Linked DNA regions of Homo sapiens: region 2 is linked to region 1. Evidence: promoter capture Hi-C in 16 types of primary human blood cells and fetal thymus (Javierre and others, 2016). All regions are on one chromosome and are shown on one strand. The core of a region is centred on a gene start or on the middle of the fragment in contact, and the rest is flanking DNA. Distances in the headings are between cores, read along the strand shown.

Region 1 (4,164 bases), core at 254-2,753:
CAGACTTCCGAGTAGCTGGGACTACAGGCGCACTAAGCTACGCCCGGCTTTTTTTTTTTTTTTTTTTTTTTTTTTTTTTTTTTTTTTTGTATTTTAGTAGAGACGGGGTTTCACCGTGTTACCCAGGCTGGTCGCGAACTCCTGAGCTCAGGTAATCCGCCCGCCTCGGCCTCCCAAAGTCCTGGGATTACAGGCGTGAGCCACCGCGCCCGGCCAGTTTTACTCTTCTTAAATCTGATGTTCATGGCATAAAGCAGGAGTAGTGGCTTTAAATATCACTAGCCACAGCTTTCAGTTGCTCTGATCGCTATCATTCACAACTTTGAGTAAAAGGAAGAAAGAAAATTCTTCCAACTGACTTATTCAACTTTCAAAAATGAGTTTGTTGCAATGCCAGTTTAAAAGCTCCCCTACTACACCGTGCTTCTATAAAGGATTCTCAAATTGATGTATGTCCAGCAAGACTTACTACTAAAGGTCACACAACTGTACTAGCACGAAACAAGCCAAGAGATAAGGCCCTGTCATCCTTCTGTGTTCAGGAAACAACGGCGGGATCATGCCACAGGCCAAGATTTCCAAAGAGATTGCTTTAGAGAGAATGGATATCAGGAAGCAAGAGCAACAGTAATTCTGGCAGAAGGGCTAGGATCCATGAGTACCCGGGGGGGGTGGGAGTAGGGGGCGGGGAAGCTTGTACAATAGATCGTCTTAATAGAAATCTAGTGTGGCCAGGAGTGCACGACCACCAATAGAAGCGCCTGCATTTTCCTTCACAGCTATCACTCTCTCTTCCCTTCCCCGCCCACCAACGAAAGCAATGCGGCAGGAGTGGAGAGCACGGGATGAATAAATGGAGTATCTTTGGGGCGTAAACCCGGTTTTAAGACCTGTTTCCACCCCGAAATAGCTGCCTGACCCAGGCAAGTCACAAAACCGTGCCTCAGTTTCCCCACTACACTGCCGACTACACAAGAATGCTGCCTGGATTAAAGGAGACAGACAACGAGTACGAAACCTTCAGCACAGGGCCAGACAGAGGAACCGCTCCGTGGCCCTAGGGCGAGTCCGCAAGAGGGTTCTGAGGCCTGGGCTCCGGCCCGGAAAGGGCGCTCCCGGGGCCCGCTCCCCGCCAGCTGGGTTCCGAGCCCCTGCCCGGCCCACCTTGTTGTTGTACTCCTCCACGAAGCTGCCCAGCGCCAAGCGAAAGCGCTTATCGGGCCGCACACTCCAGTTCATCGCGTAGACTGTCCAGGGCGCTTCATACTTGTAGATCTCCTTCCGTTTGCCGTGCAGGGACATGGTGGCCACGGGGCCGCAGTACGGGCCGGGTCAACAGTGGGCTGCGGCGGGCGGGGAGCCGAGCCTGAGATCTATGGGTCCGAAGGGAGGAGAGGAGGGGGCGGGCAGGAACGGCCTAACCCGGAAGCGGGGATGCGGCGACAAACAACGACGACGGCCGAGCCCGACCCCTAGTTTCAAACCAGCTTGGGAACGGACGACAACCACCTTCCGTTTTGGGACGCCGCCCCGCCCTCTCGGAACGGAAGCCGCCGGACCCCCGCAGCGGCACCGGCCGTTGGTTGCCTGACACGTCCTTTCGAAAGGATTCTTTCTTGTCATTGGTTATTGCGGCCGTAGCGTCTGAAATCTCCTCGCTATTGGGTTAAATGTTTGTCATTGCAACTACTCGCCCCGCCCAACTCTCGGAGGCAGGCGCTTTGGCAGCCCCAAAGGTCATTGGTTGGCCAAGATGTCAGTCAGGCAGATAACGGCTCAGTGCGGGTGGTGGGGGCGTGGGTGGCCTGGAGGCGAGCGTGCTGTAGCAGCGGGCCTCCAAGTTCTAGGCCAAGTCTCTGAGAGTGAAACCGTCTGTGACCTGCGCTGACTTCCCCTCCGCTGCTGCTGTTCTGAGCGGCCTCTCCACGCTGTCGAGTAAAAGTACAATTCTGCCTTAGTGGAAGACCTACTGACTTTCGCGGGACAGAGCCCTGCGGCCTGGCAGCCTGGCCTGCGCCCAACGGGTACCACCTTCCCGCCCCATCTCTTCCCAGGGCCCTTTTAACCCGAAAGCTGCTCTCTCCGTGCCTCAGGGACAGGCTTCGGGCGCGCAGATGCGCTCAGGGCCAGGCCAGCTTGAGTCAGGCCCTCCCGCGCTTTCCTGCAGGATCTAGAAATGTCCCCGAATTCTGGGGTAGGCACCGACCCGACCAGCTTGGCTCTGTTTTTGTCAGTTCCCATCCTGTACCCTTCCCGCCGTGGATCCCAACGCAAATGCTAATCCAGCCCCAAAGGTATCTGTGCCTGTGAGTTGGAAAAGGGGAAGGGCCAGAGACCAAATGACACCTTTATATAAATTATTTCCAATTCTCAGCTTTCATCAAAATTGAAGGAGGTTTGTATTGAATTGTTGGATGATAACATTAAATACTTTTTTTTTTTTTTTTTAAAGACAGGGTCTTGCCCTGTCACCCAGGCTGGAGTGCACTGGTGTGATAAGGGCTCACTGTAGCCTGGACTGCCTAGGTTCAAACGATTCCCCCACTTTAGCCTCTGGAGTAGCTGGAACCACAGACATTTGCCACCACACCTAGCTATTTTTAAATTATTATTTGTAGAGATGAGATCTCTCCATGTTGCCCAGGCTGATCTCGAACTCCTGGGCTCAAGCGATCCTCCCACATCAGCATCCTAAAGTACTGGGATTACAGGCTTGAGCCACCATTCTGGGCACTAAATATAATTTTTAATGATAAATGATTTTTCCACCTCCCAGGTTCAAGTGATTCTCCTGCTTCAGCCTCCCGAGTAGCTGAGATTACAGGGGTGCACCACCACAGCCAGCTAATTTTTGTATTTTTAGTAGAGATGGGGTTTCACCATGTTGGCCATTCTGGTGTCGAACTCCTGACCTCAAATGATCTTCCAGCCTCGGCCTCCCAAAGTGTTGGGATTACAGGCGTGAGCCACCGCATCTGGCCAAGAAATCCTCTTTTTTTTTTAATTTTATTTTATTTTTGAGATGGAGTCTCACTCTGTCGCCCGGGCTGTAGTGCAGTGGCACTATCTCGGCTCACTGCAACCTCTGCCTTTAGGGTTCAAGTGATTCTCTTGCTTCAGCCTCCTGAGTAGCTGGGATTACAGGCGCCCGCCACCATGCCCAGCTAAAGGAAATCCCCTGTAAGGAGGAAAGTTTAAAAACAAATTTAAAAAGGAAAGAAAAAGACGTACAAAATTCGCGGTACCTTGTCTTATTCTAATAAAAAATAATGATATTTATCCACAGATATAGGAACTAACGGGGGGAGGAAATTTTCTCTTTTATGACGTATATTTCCAATAAAATTTTAGTTTTTATTAGAAAATTGAATATATATTTATGTTGTTTTGAACAACTGTACTACTAATAGATGTAACCCTTAAAGCCTTATTAAGGTTACAAAAATTAATTTTAAAATGTCAATTAATTTATACACATTCGTTTTGAGGCAGGGTCTTGCTCTGTTATCCAGGTGGTGGTGCAGTGGGGCAAACAGTGCTTATTGCAGCCTTGACCTCCCGGGCTCAAGCAATCCTCCTGCCTCCTTTATTTTTTGTAGAGACAAGATCTTGCTATGTTGCCCAGGCTGGGTTCAACTGGTCCTCCCACCTCAGCCTCCCAAAATGCTGGGATTATAGGCATGAGCCACCCCATGACCGACCTACTTTTTTTTTGAAACGGAGTCTTGCTCTGTTGCCCACGCTGGAGTGCAGTGGCACGATCTTGGCTCACTACAAGCTCCACCTCCTGGGTTCACGCCATTCTCCTGCCTCAGCCTCCCGAGTAGCTGGGACTACAGGCACCTGCCACCACGCCTGGCTATTTTTTTTGTATTTTTAGTAGAGATGGGGTTTCACCCTGTTAGCCAGGATGGTCTTGATCTCCTGACCTCGTGATCTGCCCACCTCAGCCTCCCAAAGTGCTGGGATTACAGGTGTGAGCCACTGCGCCCAGCCACTTTTTTTTTTTTTTTTAAGAGACCGAGTCTTGCTCTGTTACCCGGGCTGGAGTACAGTTGCATGAACATGGCTTACTGCAGTCTTGACCTCTTAGGTTCAAGTGACTCTCCCACCCAAGCCTCCCAGCAAGCCCTGTAGTACCTGGGACTACAGGTGCGCATCACA
Region 2 (4,164 bases), core at 1,626-4,125, 280 kb before region 1:
CTTCTATCTTAAGAGCTTTGGTGACTGAGGATGACTCCAGGCTCTCCTGGGGGAGAGGGTCCTGGAGACTGGAGGGGCGTTATGGGAGTGAGTGTCCTTTTTTGGACCATTGACCTCTTAAGTGGGTTTCTGTCCTCCCCAGGTTAAAGAGGAGGAAGATGGCAGATAAGGTTCTACCTCAGCGAGTAAGTGTTAAGAGGACACCTGGGAGGCCTGCCCAGTGGCCACCTTGGGGTGGGTGTCCATCTCTCTCAAAGCTGGGCTGCAGCAGGAAGGGAGGAAAGAGCCAGGCTTTGGCTGAAGCAAGCTGATGAGCTTCTGCTACCTTCCTTCAGATCCGGGAGCTTGTTCCAGAGTCTCAGGCGTACATGGATCTCTTGGCTTTTGAGCGGAAGCTGGACCAGACCATTGCTCGCAAGCGGATGGAGATCCAGGAGGCCATCAAAAAGCCTCTGACAGTATGTGTGGCCCTGACCACCTCTAGCCTTCCCAGGTTTCCTTGCCTTCCACCCCCTTGTTTTCCAGGGGCCAAGCAAGTTGGGCTAGAGCCGGGTTTTTCACATGCAGGATGCAGCCCACTAGTAGAGTACGAACTCAGTTGAATGTGTTGGGGCCAGTATGTTTTAAATGAATATATGACAGTAGAAAATCTTAAAATACTTCACAGTAGTACTTACCATAGTAGTAAATGGATTCTTTCATGACATTTTTGTTTCTGATAAATAGATATGCAGACCTTGGGTCATAATTGAAAATGTAAATCTTATGGGTGGTGGTCAAAAGTTTGAAAACCACTAGACTAGGGGATAAAGGTAGTTCCTTTCTCCTTCCCCTTCCCCATCCATAGAGAAATTTTCTTTTTTTTTTTTTTTTTTTTTTCTGAGATGGAGTCTCGCTCTTTCACCTAAGCTGGAGTGCAGTGTTGCGATCTCGGCTCACTGCAACCTTCGCATCCCAGGTTCAAGTAATTCTTCTTGCCTCAGCCTCCCGAGTAACTAGGATTACAGATGCCTGTCACCACGCCCGGCTAATTTTTGTATTTTTAGTATCGCCATGTTACCCAGGCTGGTCTCGAACTCCTGACTGCCTCGGCCTCCCAAAGTGCTGAGATTACAGGCGTGAGCCACTGCACCCAGCCGAGAAGCTTTTCTTAATAATAATGTAGAACAGTCCCGAGTGGTGAAGCCTTTCCAGGGGACTAGGATATTTTGGAGCCGTGATGGGTGTTTGGGTTTCATGTAAGATGTGAGCCAGAGACTGGCTGCGTGTTACTCCATCATGCCGTAGCACCAGTCCCACTGTGCTGGCATTGTTGGTGATGCATCTCTTTCCCCATAAAATGGTGAGTTCCGGCCAGGTGCGGTGGCTCACACCTGTAATCTCAGCACTTTAGGAGGCCGAAGTGGGCAGATCACCTGAGGTCAGGAGTTTGAGACCAGCATGGCCAACATGTTGAAATACCATCTTTACAAAAACACAAAAAATTAGCTGGGCATGGTGGTGCGCACCTGTAGTCCCAGCTACATGGGAGACTGAGGCAAGAGAATCGCTTGAACCTGGGAGTCAGAGGTTGCAAGTGAGCTGAGATCGCGCCACTGCACTCCAGCCTGGGTGACAGAGTGAGACCATGTCTAAAAAAAAAAAAGGCTGGGACTGGGACTTACTACTTCTGATTCCCAGTACCTGACAAGGTGCCTGGCTGGCTCATGGTGCTCAGTACTGATTGTTGAATGGTTCATATGAGAAGATGCGGTAGCACTGTGTCCCAGCATCTTGGTCCACCTCCAGTTGTGATTGCCTTTCTCTCTTTAGCAAAAGCGAAAGCTTCGGATCTACATTTCCAATACGTTCAGTCCCAGCAAGGCGGAAGGCGATAGTGCAGGAACTGCAGGGACCCCTGGGGGAACCCCAGCAGGGGACAAGGTGGCTTCCTGGGAACTCCGAGTGGAAGGAAAACTGCTGGATGATGTGAGTTGGGGAGGGAGGTTCTGGAGGGAAGGAGGCCTGTGTGGGTTTAAGACTGAGACCAAGGAGTTTGATACTAGCCTGAGCAGCAGAGCCAGACCCCATCTCTACAAAAAATTTAAAAATTAGCTGGGTGCGGTGGCATGCACCTGTAGTCCCAGCTACTCATAAGGCTGATGCAGGAGGATGGCTTGAGCCCAGGAGGTCGAGCTTCAGTGAGTTATGATCACACCACTGCACTTCAGCCTGGGTGACAGAGTGAGATTGTGTCTCAGAAAAAAAAAGACTGGGCCAGACACTTGGGCGCTCCCAGAGAAGTCCTGCCATAGGGAGGGGGGCGCTGCTCCAAGCCCGTTGGAGGTTGATTTGTGTGGTTATTACAGTGTTCCTGCAGATGGCAGTCGAGTGTCTCGAGGAAGTCCCTCGTGGGCTGCAAGAGGGCACCATTTCCCTGCCTCCAGTCTGCCCAGAGTCCTGCTTCCATCCTTCAGGGCCCAGGAATCTTCAGTATCCGGAGCTCCAGGGCTGAAATGGGGCTTCTCTTTCTTGGGATTTAGCATAGCTTGAGATTTGAGAGCTCAGCAGCACCATCTCACACCCCTTTCCATCCCCAGCCTAGCAAACAGAAGAGGAAGTTTTCTTCATTCTTTAAGAGCCTCGTCATTGAGCTGGACAAGGAGCTGTACGGGCCTGACAATCACCTGGTGGAGGTGAGAGTGGGCCTGGGGCAAAAGCAGGCTGATGTGCAGGTTTGGCAGGGAAATGGCCTCAGGGCCCTTGGGAGGCCCTGTGTTCACGCCCACCCCCTTGGTGATAAGCCATGCTTCCCTCCCTGCCAGTGGCACCGGATGCCCACCACCCAGGAGACAGATGGCTTCCAAGTAAAACGGCCTGGAGACCTCAACGTCAAGTGCACCCTCCTGCTCATGCTGGATCATCAGGTGACAGAGACCCTGGGGTCATTTCTGGGCCCACAGGGACCCCTCAGGAGGGGAGCTGGTTCCTAGAAACCCTTCCTGTCCCTGCCCTATTTTCCCACTGTTCTACTATAAGAACCCGTTCTGACTCCCCTCCATCCAACTCCAGCCTCCCCAGTACAAATTGGACCCCCGATTGGCAAGGCTGCTGGGAGTGCACACGCAGACGAGGGCCGCCATCATGCAGGCCCTGTGGCTTTACATCAAGCACAACCAGCTGCAGGATGGGCACGAGCGGGAGTACATCAACTGCAACCGTTACTTCCGCCAGGTTAGCCAGATGCCAGCCCCCGTTTTCTCAGCCCTTGCTTTGCCTTGCCTGCTGGGCTACTCCTTGGCCACAGCCTGCAGACTGCTGCCCTCACTGGTCCTGGAATGGTCCACTCCACTGTGCCCACAAGCCAACGCTGAGCCTTTCGTATTTCCTCCAGATCTTCAGTTGTGGCCGACTCCGTTTCTCCGAGATTCCCATGAAGCTGGCAGGGTTGCTGCAGCATCCAGACCCCATTGTCATCAACCATGTCATTAGGTAAATGCAAGGAGGGGGACAGGAAGGCTCTTCTAAGAGCAGATTCACCCTTGGCTTGAACTAAAGCCAAAGAAAGCATCAGGTTTCTTTTTCCCTGAGTGTGTGCAGAGAATGGGCCCCAGATTTGGCCCAGGTGGGCAGGATGAAGTCAGCTATGTGCCTTCCCTCCCCATGTGCTGCCTGCAGTGTCGACCCTAACGACCAGAAGAAGACAGCCTGTTACGACATCGATGTGGAGGTGGACGACCCACTGAAGGCCCAAATGAGCAATTTTCTGGCCTCTACCACCAATCAGCAGGAGATCGCCTCCCTTGATGTCAAGGTGGGCCCTCTGGCTCCACAGCTTCCTCTGGGGCCCAGGATTGGGGTGGGCTGGCTCTGTCCAGCATTTCCATACATGTAGCACCTGGAGGACGGGATGGGAACTCTGGCTCAGTTGCTTGCATGTAAGCTTTGGGGGCACAGTCTGACACAGGTACCCTCTCCAGATCCATGAGACCATTGAGTCCATCAACCAGCTGAAGACCCAGAGAGATTTCATGCTCAGTTTTAGCACCGACCCCCAGGACTTCATCCAGGAATGGCTCCGTTCCCAGCGCCGAGACCTCAAGGTGTAGTCCTCTTTCCCGAGGGGACTCCTATGTAAAGCTCTGGGTGATTTTTACCCACAGCAGTTCCCAGGGTGGATTAGCC

What was found. The method cuts DNA at HindIII sites, captures the fragments that hold promoters and counts their contacts. A CHiCAGO score of 5 or more calls a contact.
Region 2: a contact is called between a fragment that was not itself captured here and the fragment with the promoter of DCAF7 in region 1, in 1 of 17 cell types (neutrophils). The highest score is 5.8, in neutrophils.

Annotation. Positions count from the first base shown.
Region 1 is chr17:63,547,816-63,551,979 of GRCh38, reverse strand. DCAF7 (DDB1 and CUL4 associated factor 7) reads right to left here and starts at 1,503. Exons shown (of 7, transcript NM_005828.5): 1 at 1,165-1,503. The coding sequence starts at 1,302. It also overlaps a transcript of KCNH6 not described here. RefSeq lists silencers at 1,010-1,159, 1,180-1,229 and enhancers at 1,380-1,459, 1,900-2,289, 1,589-2,573. The HindIII fragment of the contact is 8,271 bases long and covers 696-4,164 here.
Region 2 is chr17:63,833,216-63,837,379 of GRCh38, reverse strand. SMARCD2 (SWI/SNF related BAF chromatin remodeling complex subunit D2) reads left to right here. Exons shown (of 13, transcript NM_001098426.2): 3 at 143-185; 4 at 336-458; 5 at 1,813-1,968; 6 at 2,580-2,675; 7 at 2,805-2,906; 8 at 3,052-3,213; 9 at 3,374-3,471; 10 at 3,658-3,793; 11 at 3,960-4,082. Among named protein-coding and RNA genes, the nearest start is that of SMARCD2, 7.4 kb to the left of the region's middle. RefSeq lists an enhancer at 2,178-2,337. The HindIII fragment of the contact is 2,098 bases long and covers 1,827-3,924 here.